Linked DNA regions of Homo sapiens: region 2 is linked to region 1. Evidence: promoter capture Hi-C in 16 types of primary human blood cells and fetal thymus (Javierre and others, 2016). All regions are on one chromosome and are shown on one strand. The core of a region is centred on a gene start or on the middle of the fragment in contact, and the rest is flanking DNA. Distances in the headings are between cores, read along the strand shown.

What was found. Contacts are between HindIII fragments. The CHiCAGO score rates a contact against its expected background, and 5 or more counts as called.
Region 2: a contact is called between a fragment that was not itself captured here and the fragment with the promoter of ZNF394 in region 1, in 1 of 17 cell types (erythroblasts). The highest score is 7.2, in erythroblasts.

Annotation. Positions count from the first base shown.
Region 1 is chr7:99,497,373-99,502,681 of GRCh38, forward strand. It overlaps ZNF394 (zinc finger protein 394), which reads right to left and starts at 2,909. Exons shown (of 3, transcript NM_032164.4): 1 at 2,266-2,909; 2 at 1,344-1,470. The coding sequence starts at 2,721. RefSeq lists enhancers at 1,349-2,017, 2,240-2,519. The HindIII fragment of the contact is 23,896 bases long and covers 1-5,309 here.
Region 2 is chr7:100,018,156-100,023,772 of GRCh38, forward strand. ZKSCAN1 (zinc finger with KRAB and SCAN domains 1) reads left to right here. Exons shown (of 6, transcript NM_003439.4): 2 at 5,264-5,617. The coding sequence starts at 5,352. Among named protein-coding and RNA genes, the nearest start is that of ZKSCAN1, 5.4 kb to the left of the region's middle. The HindIII fragment of the contact is 1,298 bases long and covers 2,202-3,499 here.

The DNA.
Region 1 (5,309 bases), core at 1,659-4,158:
GGTTTCACCGTGTTAGCCAGGATAGTCTCAATCTCCTGACCTCATGATCTGCCCGCCTCGGCCTCCCAAAGTGCTGGGATTACAGGCGTGAGCCACCGTGCCTGGCCTATAATGTTTTTCCTTATATGTACATCCCTTTAATCAAGTTTAATTAATAAATTAGGGACATTAAGAGATTAACAGTAACTATTAATTATAACAATATACTTAGCTAGGTTTGGTGTCTCACACCTGTAATCCCAGCACTTTGGGAGGCTGAGGCAGGAGGATCACCTGAGGTAAGGAGTTCAAGACCAGTCTGGCCAACATGGTGAAACCCCATCTCTACTAAAAACACAAAATTAGCTGAGCATGGTGGGGCATAACTGTAATTCCAGCTCCTCGGGAGACAGAGGCAGGAGAATTGCTTGGCTTGGGAGGCAGAAGTTGCAGTGAGCTGAGACCACACCACTGCACTCCCCCTGGGCAACAAGAGTAAAACTCCATCTCAAAAAAACCCCCAAAGCCAAAGATAAAAAACGAAAAACAAATGCTATACTTAATAAAAGTCATGTGAATGTGGTCTCTCCCTGTCTTAAAATATCTGATTGTACTGTGGGTAAGTGAAACCGCAGAAAGCAAAACCAGGAAGGGGGGACTACTGCCTGTCTCTAGGCATATTCTCTTCAAAAACTCCAACATAGAAACAAATATACAAAGATATGCAAGAATATACAAGAATGTTCGGTGCAATGCTGTAATGGTTAAAAACTTAAGACACCTAAATGTCCATCAACAGAAATGGAGAGAATTCTGGAGTATCTGGACCGTGAAATAGGTAGAGCTCCATGCATCAACATGAGTAAATCTCAAAAATGTAATGTTGAGTAAAAAAAGCCATACAGTAATGATATACAGCGTGGAGCTACGTGTCTATGTAGAGACAATATAAGACATGCATGGAAGTCATGAACACAACAGTCAGCTTACTGGCTACCTCTGGAGAAGGATAGAGGGGAAGGGTTTCAGGGAGGCTATGTGGGGGCCTCACCTACAGCTGTAACATACTATTTCCTTGGCAATATGGCCAAGTATTAAGATCTGATAAACTTGGGTGGTAGACACAGGGGATGGTCATTATCTTTTTTTTATATAGTTTTCTGTATGTATAAAACATTAAAAATGAACCAAAGTAAAAAGCTGAATCTAGCACCTAGCAGTACAGAGGCTCCTGCTTGCGTTACAGAAGGCACCTGAAGGCTCTCAGCCCAAGTCTGGGAATGGCATAGTGGCTCAGGGATGGTAGTGAACCAGCCCTTCACAAACCACACACCGCAATAAACCAGCAGAGCAACAGCACTCACTCGGCGGAACTGTGCTCCCGGAATCCTTCTGCGCACTCTCTCTGCAGAAGTCCCTCCGTGCTGGGTCCAGGCGCTCCCACTCCTCCCAGGTTAGAGACACAGCCGTGTCCTCGAAAGTCACCATCCCCTGGAACAACACAAGAGCCCCATTCAGTACCTGCTGTCCCTGTACAGCACTAACACTCTTCTTGAGTCTTGTACCGACAAGGGAGTTTGGAGAGATCAGAGATAGAGGCTGACATTCTCTTGTAATCCTGAAAAGCCTTTCTGTGGACTATTTACACTAATTTTGGAGGTAGGTAGGAGCAAAATATTTCTTTAACTTATATCACTGTGATGTATGGGAATGGAAATATGATACAGATTAAAAGTAAACAAGGCCGGGCGCGGTGGCTCACGCCTGTAATCCCAGCATTTTGGGAGGCCGAGGCGGGCGGATCACCTGAGGTCAGGAGTTCGAGACCAGCCTGGCCAACACAGTGAAACCCCGTCTCTACTAAAAATACAAAAATTAGCCGGGCGTGGTGGCGGGCGCCTGTAATCCCAGCTACTCGGGAGACTGAGGCAGGAGAATCGCTTGAACCCGGGAGTCAGAGGTTGCAGCGAGCCGAGATCGCGCCATTGCACTCCAGCCTGGGCAACAAGAGTGAAACTCCATCTCAAACAACAGCAAGAACAACAAGAAAAAAAAAAAAAAGAAAAGAAAAAGAAAGAAAACCAGTAATCCGTGTTCGCTTTATGCTGAGGTCTATAACAAGTCATTTCCTGGATGGATCTGTCACTGTGGCCTACAGAAAGGAAGTCCATACACACCCCAATGTTCACACGAAATGTAATAAGGAAGTAAGTTCCGAAACGCAGAGCACCCCTAAACGCCTATTTTCCACACTCCCACCTCCAGAACAGGCCTTTCGCTTCTCACCTGGGATGAGGTTCCATCGAGCGCTCGCTGCAGAGCCCGCACCACGGCCACCGCCTCCTCCCCGCTCTCTGGGCAGTGCTCTCGCACCCAGGCTTGAAGCTCCTCGGGCAGGATGGTGAGGAACTGCTCCAGCACCAGCAGCTCCAGGATCTGCTCCTTGGAGAGCAGCTCGGGTCTCAGCCACCGACGACAGAGTTCTCGGAGCCGGCTCAGCGCCTCTTCCGGTCCAGCCACCTCCTGGTAACGCAGCTGCCTAAAGTGCAGTCGAGAAGTTTCGGGGTCCGGCGAAGCCGCGGGATAGTTGGGCTCCCAACTTCCGGGTGAGTCTTCCTCCACTTTCACGGGCAAAAGTCCGTCGCGTTGGGACGGCGCCGCGTCCTTGGACCTCGCAGCCATCACCCAGGGTCCCAACTCGGCGTCACTGCCGCGCCTCTGGGCGGTCAAGCTGGAATTCATCTTTCTCCGGCATGTGCTGCCCTTCCTGGAGTCTTCTTTTCAGGTGAAGAAAGAGCAAACCCAAGGAACTCATCAGCCGTCAACACCCTCCGGTCCCAAACACCGGGCCCCACCACACCAGGCCCCTCTCCACACTCTCCTTTCCTCAGCTTTGCGCCTACAACTCTCTCGGTCAAACAACCGAAAACATCCCGTGCCGGAAGCGCGTCATCGAGGCCTTGCGGCACCTTTCCCTGCATTTCCGGGGCCTCTCTAGGCGCCTGATGGGGTGAGGTGCATCTCGCTGGTTTATCGTCCTAGCCCCGCCCGACGCAGAGGGTCTTGACGGTTTCCCGCATCCCGAGGAAATACGGGCGTCCGAGCCGGTGGCCGAGCTCCGGCAAGGGCGGGAACCTTCAGGATTAAATAGACAGGGTCTGGCTCTGTCGCCCAGGCTGGACTGCAGTGGCGCGATTTCGGCTCACTGCAACTTCTGTCTCCCGGGTTCAAGCAATTCTCCAGCTTCAGCCTCCCAAGTATCTAGGACTACAGGTGCGCGCGACCACGCCCGGTTTATTAATTTTTCTGTGGGGATGGGGTTTCATTATATTGCCCAGGTTGGACAAAGTTGTTTTTTTTTCTTTTTTCAGGCGGACTCTCGCTCTGTCGCCAGGCTGTCTTAGCCTCCTGAGTAGCTTGGACTACAGGCGCGCGCCACCATGCCCGGCTACTTTCTGTATTTTAGTAGAGATGGGGTTTCACCATGTTGGTCAGGCTGGTCTGGAACTCCTGACCTCGTGATCCGCCTGCCCCGGCCTCCCAAAGTGCTGGATTACAGGCGTGAGCCGCTGCGCCCAGTTGGAAAAAGTTTTGTTTTTTTTTTAAAACTAAGTGCTTCCATGTACATCAGATGTTAACGACTTTGATCCTAACAAACAAACAAAAAAGATGAGGAAATTGAGGCTCAAAGATGTGTCCTGGCCTGGCTCAGTGGCGTATGCCTGTAATCCCAGCATTTTGGGAGGCTGAGGGGGGAAGATCGCTTGAAGCCAAGAATTGGAGACCCCAATGTCTACAAAAAATAAAAAATTAGCTGGGTGTGGTGGTGCACACCTGTAGTCCCAGTGAGAGGTGAAGCTAGTTGGACTTCCTGGGTCCAGTGGGGACTTGGACAACTTTTCTGTCTTACAAGAGGTTTGTAAAAATGCACCAATCAGCGCTCTGTAGCTAGCAAGAGGTTTGTAAAATGCACCAATCAGCGCTCTGTAAAATGGACCAATCAGCAGGATTCTAAAAGCAGCCAATCGCAGGGAGGATGGAAAAAAGGGCGTTCTGATACGACAGAAACGGACATGGGAGGGGACAAATAAGAGACTAAAAGCTCCCACCCCAGTCAGCGGAGGCAACCGGCTGGAGTGCTCTGCCATGCTGTGGAAGGTTTGTTCTTTCGCTCTTCACAATAAATCTTGCTGCTACTCACTCTTTGGGTCCGTGCCATCTTTAAGAGCTGTAACACAGTGAAGGTCGGAGGCTGCATTCTTGAAGTCAGCGAGAGGATGAACCCACTGGAAGGAACCAACTCAGGATACACCACTTACTTGGGAGGCTGAGGTGGGAGGATCCTTTGAGCCCAGGAGGTAAAGACTGCAGTGAGATATGATCGCACCAGTGCACTCCAGCCTGGGTGACAGAGCAAGACTCTGTCTCTAAAACAAAGTGTCTTGGTTGATGTCAAGCTGCTGGTGATTTGCAACTTGCATAAAATGAGACGATCGCTTGAGACCAGGAGTTCCAGGCCAGCCTGAGCAACATAGAGAGGATGTGTCTCCATATAAAAATAAAAAAATTTTTTTTTGAGAGGGAGTATCGCTCGGGTTCAAGCGATTCTCCTATCTCAGCCTCCCAAGTAGCTGGGATTACAGGCGCGTGCCACCACACCCAGCTAATTTTTTGTATTTTTAGTAGAGACGGGGTTTCACCATGTTAGCCAGGATGGTCTTGATTTCCTGACCTCGGCTCACTGCAACCTCTGCCTCCTGGGTTCAAGCAATCCCCCTCCCCACCCCACGCCCAAACAAACCGAACACTATTTATCAATCCAGGTGTGTTTAATAACTAGACATAAAAATATCTCTTATGGAGCCAGGTGCGGTGGCTCACGCCTGTAATCCCAGCACTTTGGGAGGCCGAGGCGAGGGGATCACCTGAGGTCGGGAGTTCAAGACCAGCCTGACCAACATGGAGAAACTTCGTCTCTACTAAAAAATACAAAATTAGCCGGGCATGGTGGCGCATGCCTGTAATCGCAGCTACTCGGGAGGCTGAGGCAGGAGAATCACTTGAACCCAGGAGGCAGAGGTTCACTAAGCCAAGATCGTGCCATTCACTCCAGCCTAGGCAACCAGCAAAACCATCTCAAAAAAAAAAAAAAAAAAAAAAAAAAAGGAAACTAGTCATCTTGGCTATCTCTAGAGAGAAAAATGAATGTAGAATGAGAATGAGAGGAAGACCTTAAGTGCCTTATTGAATTTTGACTCATGCAAATGTGTTATCTATTTAAGAAATAAATTATTGAAATGCAAAAGGTGTTTATAAATAATTCAAACCGG
Region 2 (5,617 bases), core at 1,601-4,100, 520 kb after region 1:
GGAGCAGCTTTAATGCTAACCTGAAACTCATCCAACTAGTCCATGGAACAAATTTGAGTGCAACATTGAATGTAGAATGATCGGGCTTTTAAAAAATAGTAACGTTGTCAATTCAGTCAAGTGTATTTTTGAAACTGAGGCTTGCAAGGAATCATGCTAAGTGGTCTAAGGAGTACAAAGAGGACTGCTCTTAATAATCTAGTTGAGGAAGAAGGCAAGAAAAATTACAGAGAAAGAAACATCATGAGAAATTTTTTTTTTTTTTTTGAGACAGAGTCTCGCTCTGTCACCCAGGCTGGAGTGCAGTGGCGCAATCGCAGCCTCCCGGGTTCACGCCATTCTCCTGCCTCAGCCTCCCAAGTAGCTGGGACTACAGGCGCCCGCCACCACACCCAGCTAATTTTTTATATTTTTAGTAGAGACGGGGTTTCATCGTGTTACCAGGATGGTCTCGATCTCCTCACCTCGTGATCCGCCCACCTCAGCCTCCCAAAGTGCTAGGATTACAGGCATGAGCCACTGCGCCCGGCGCATCATGAGAAATTACCTAGCAAATGTTTGGTGAAGAGTATTAGGGCCTTTAGAGACAGAAGAGTATGTGCTCAGATCATCTGGGAAACCTCAAATAAAACCCAGCCTTTCCACTGCTGTGATGGCTTTTCCCTGCACCCCAGAGTAGGAGCAGAGAGATACTGAAGGTGAGGAGGAGGATCTGTCCCAGTTGTGGGCAGAGGGAATGTGCCCATGTCTGTGTCTATTTCCCCCTGGACTCATTTCCTCCTTAGAGTCGCATCTTCGCACTGACCCAAGAAGTGTCCTGCTCAATAGCTAAGGCAGGATAAAACTTTCACAAAAGTAGGGATTTCTGGTGGCTGGGCTCGCTATCACACTAGTTCTGCTCAGTTACCATGTTTGAAGATCCCACCTGGTTATGTTGTAGACAGTCCCCACTTGAATCTTCTGCTGTGTCTCCTCCCTTTCCCAGGAAGGGCTTCAGTCACATAGTGACCCTCCAGTGAAAACTGGGTGGTAGATAAGGCCCGTTCCTGAGTGATTTTTTTTTCTCTTTGAGAAGGAGTCTCTCTCTGTCACCCAGGCTGGAGTGCAGTGGCGCGTTCTCAGCTCACTGCACCCTCCACCTCCCAGGTTCAAGTGATTCTCCTGCCTCAGCCTCCCGAGTAGCTGAGATTACAGGTATGTGCCACACATCCAGCTAATTTTTGTATTTTTAGTAGAGACGGGGTTTCGTCATGTTGGCCAGGCTGGTCCCGAGCTCCTCAGCTCAGGTGATCGACCCTCCTTGGCATCCCAAAGTGCTGGGATTACAGGCGTGAGCTACCGTGCCTGGCCCTGATTGATTCTTCATTGTCACGTTCATAGGCCTTCATTTTAGGATCTGTATACCCCACATGTCAGGTACAAGATAAATTTTGTATAATGGTTAAAGAGTTTACATTGGGGAATCACTTTTATTTCAAATTCTGCCTCTACCATATACTTGCTGTGTGACCTTGAGTAAGTTATTTAATGGCAGTATATCTCAGTTCTTCTTTTGTTTTTTTTTGAGATGGAGTCTCACTCTGTTGCCCAGACTGGAGTGCAGTGGTGTAATCTCAGCTCACTGCAGCCTCCGCCTCCCAGGTTGAAGCAACTCTCCTGCCTCAGCCTCCCGAGTAGCTGGGACTACAGGCATTGCACCACCACACCTGGCTAATTTTTGTATTTTTAGTAGAGATGGGGTTTTGCCATGTTATCCAGGCTGGTCTCGAACTCCTGACCTCAGGTTATCTATCTGCCTTGGCCTCCCAAAGTGCTGGGATGACAGGCATGAGCCGCTGCGCTCAGCCTCTCAGTTCTTTATACAGTGAGATGATAAGTGTAGCTACCTGCTAAGATTGTTATGTGGTCAAGTGAAAATGCTTAAATACCCGGTACCTAGAAAGCACTCAGTAAACATTGGCTCTTACTGTTATAGTTATGAGAGGGTTCTTGAACAGTGATAAGAGGCAAGTCGCGTTTTAGCTAGCTTTAAAGGTTAAGTAGGATTTGAAAAGGCAGAGAGGACTGCGGGGGGAAGTCCCAGGCATGGAGTGTGATGTGAGGAAAGGATGGCAGTCAAAATACAAGGCATATATAGGAAATACTGATGAGAGGGCTTTTGTTGCATAGGGAAGGTTTATGGGGGGATTGATGGGAAAAGAAGCTTGAGGGAAAATTGGGACCAGGCACTGGAAAGTATTAACTGCAAGGCTGTAGAGTTTTAGAAAGAATAATCTGAAAGGTGGATTGTGGGAGAGAAGGGAGAAAATGAAGGCAGGGAACCAAAGAAAGGAAGCTGGACTTCATGGAACTAGATTAAAAAAAATAAGTATGGCCTGTAATCCCAGCTACTCAGGAGGCTGAGGCAGGAGAATTACTTGAACCCGAGAGGCGGATGTTGCAGTGAGCTGAGATCATGCCATTGCACTCCAGCCTGGGCGATAGAGCAAGACTCCGTTTCAATATATATGTATATATAATTTTTGTGCTGTTATATGTACATGATCCCTTTTTCACCAAAATTAAGAATATGTTTAGTGAGAGCCATAAAACTAAAAATGCTTTTGCTAGTTTAAAACTCGGTTTAACCCATCATGATAAAGCAGTTTAATGGTCTGTTTCTAAAACTTCAATTTGATGCTTAGTTTTGATGGCTGTAGAGGTGAAAAGAATAAATTCAGAAAGATTTGTAGCTTCAGATGGAAGAATCACAGTGTCAGTTCTGCTTAGTAACTTGTGATTGATCCAACCTATCAACCATGCTGAATTTTTGTTGTTGAAATGCAGGGTATAGTCTTACAAACTAATCAGGTGGTGGCATTTTATATTTTTAACAAATAGGCTTAAGACCCACCTGAAATTCTTCATTTGAAAGATTTTTAAACAGGTTAGAAAATATTTCCAAGTTTCTTTTTTTTTTCCTTTTTTTTTTTTTTTTTTTTTTGAGATGGAGTCTCACTTTGTTACCCAGGCTGGAGTGCAATGGCGTGATCTCAGTTCACTGCAACCTCAGCCTCCTGGGTTCAAGCGATTCTCCTGCCTCAGTCTCCCAAATAGCTGGGATTACAGGCGCCTGCTACCATGCCCAGCTAATTTTTTGTATTTTTAGTAGAGACGGGGTTTCACGATGATGGCCAAGCTGGTCTTGAACTCCTGACCGCAGGTGGCCCCCTGCTCCCTGCCTCAGCCTCCCAAAGTGCTGGTATTACAGGCATGAGCCACCTCACCCAGCCCCAAGTTTCTAAAATGTGAACATAGATGGGTTTTTCCTGGATACTTGACATCATTTTTGGCAGTTAAATTACATAACAATGGAACCATTTCATACAGCTGTTCCTGTAATTGCCCTTTCTTCACACTTTCTTTAAAGAAGCTGATTACTCATTGGTGACTTTTTCTTTGATTTAGACTGACATTGGTTTTTACCTCCTAATGTGGCTAAAACCTTACTCTAGATAGAAGCTTCATCTGTGCCATTTTCTTCTTGTTCACATCTGTTTATATTATTAGTGTGTCCTGTAATTGCAGTTTCTCTATAAGAATCTTTTTTTTTTTTTTTTTCCTTTTCCTGATAGGGCTTTGCTCTGTCACCCAGGCTGGAATGCAGTGGCGTGATCGTAGCTGACTGCAGCCTCAAACTTCTGGTTTCATGCAATCCTCCCACCTTAGCCTCCTGAGTAGCTGTGACTGCAGACACAGTCCCCATGCCCAGCTAATTTTTTTCTTTTTCATAGGGACAGGGTCTTGCTATGTTGCCCAGGCTGGTCTCAAACTTCTGGCTTCAAGCATCCTCCTGCCTCATCCTCCCAAAGGGCTGGAATTATAGGCATGAGCTACCATATCTGGCCACAAGAATCTTTAAAGCTGCTTGTCTCTTTTATGACAGAGTCTCGCTCTGTGGCCAGGATGGAGTGCAGTGGCGCGATCTCGGCTCACTGCAACCTCCGCCTCCTGGGTTCAAGTGATTCTCCTTCCTCAGCCTCCCAAGTAGCTGGGACTACAGGTGCCCGCCACCGCGCCCAGCTAATTTTTCTATTTTTAGTAGAGACAGGGTTTCACCATGTTGACCAGGATGGTCCCGATCTCCTGACCTCGTGATCCGCACGCCTTGGCCTCCCAAAGTTTTGGGATTATAGGCATGAGCCACTGCGCCCAGCCAAAGCTAGATTTAGAAATCCATTATTTCACATAACTGGTCTCAGATAAACCAGTCTACATCACAATGTCTAAAATGAACAACACCTGTGACAGGTCAGCACAGACTAAGTAAGTGTATTAGTGTCAATTTATAGCTTAATTTCTCTCTCTTTTAAGATACAGACATTCCAATTATTTTCTTTCTGTATCCTTTGCGGATCATCTTGTACTTTGGAAACCACAATTTAACTGCCCAAGTCACTCATAAAAATAGCAAAAGTAGCTGGATGGTACAAAAGTAGGTCCCAGGGCTTCAAATTTGGTTGAATATTGACTCCAGTAGGCAGCCACCTACTACTGAGCAAACCTAACCCTCAGTTATGTCATTTGTAAAACAGCACTTAACAGTTTGGCCGACCTGCTAGGGCTGTTGTAGGGACAAAAGAAGATGGTGCGTGTACTGCTTTAAGCCTGGCACCTGGCACTCTGCTAACATTCAGCTCTCTGGGCTGGGCACTGTTAATGCTCCATTTCGTAACCTGCTGTCAACCTGCAGGTAAATCACTCTGACTCCAAGCAAACACCCTGAGGGTGGAGTCGGCCTGTTTGAGGTTTCTGTTTGCAAATCTTGATATATGAAGTGACAGTGGAGATTGTACAGTTTTTTCCTCGATTTGTCAGGATTTTTTTTTTTTTGACGGAGTTTAACTTCTTGTCTCCCAGGTAGGAAGTGCAGTGGCGTAATCTCGGCTCACTACAACCTCCACCTCCTGGGTTCAAGCGTTTCTCCTGCCTCAGCTTTCCGAGTAGCTGGGATTACAGGCGCCTGCCACCATGCCCTGCTGACTTTTGTATTTTTAGTAGAGACGGGGTTTCACCATGTTGGCCAGGCTGGTCTTGAACTCCTGACCGCAGGCGATTGGCCTGCCTCGGCCTCCCAAAGTGCTGAGATTACAGGCGTGAGCCACCACCCCCGGCCTCAGGAGCGTTCTGATAGTGCCTCGATGTGCTGCCTCCTATAAAGTGTTAGCAGCACAGATCACTTTTTGTAAAGGTACGTACTAATGACTTTTTTTTTATACTTCAGGAATAGTAAAGAAACACATCATAAAACCTCCCAGGACATAAAGGTGAGCACAGACCCTGTTTGGATCAAGTCAGTTCCTGGAGCCTGAATGATGACTGCTGAATCACGGGAAGCCACGGGTCTGTCCCCACAGGCTGCACAGGAGAAGGATGGTATCGTAATAGTGAAGGTGGAAGAGGAAGATGAGGAAGACCACATGTGGGGGCAGGATTCCACCCTACAGGACACGCCTCCTCCAGACCCAGAGATATTCCGCCAACGCTTCAGGCGCTTCTGTTACCAGAACACTTTTGGGCCCCGAGAGGCTCTCAGTCGGCTGAAGGAACTTTGTCATCAGTGGCTGCGGCCAGAAAT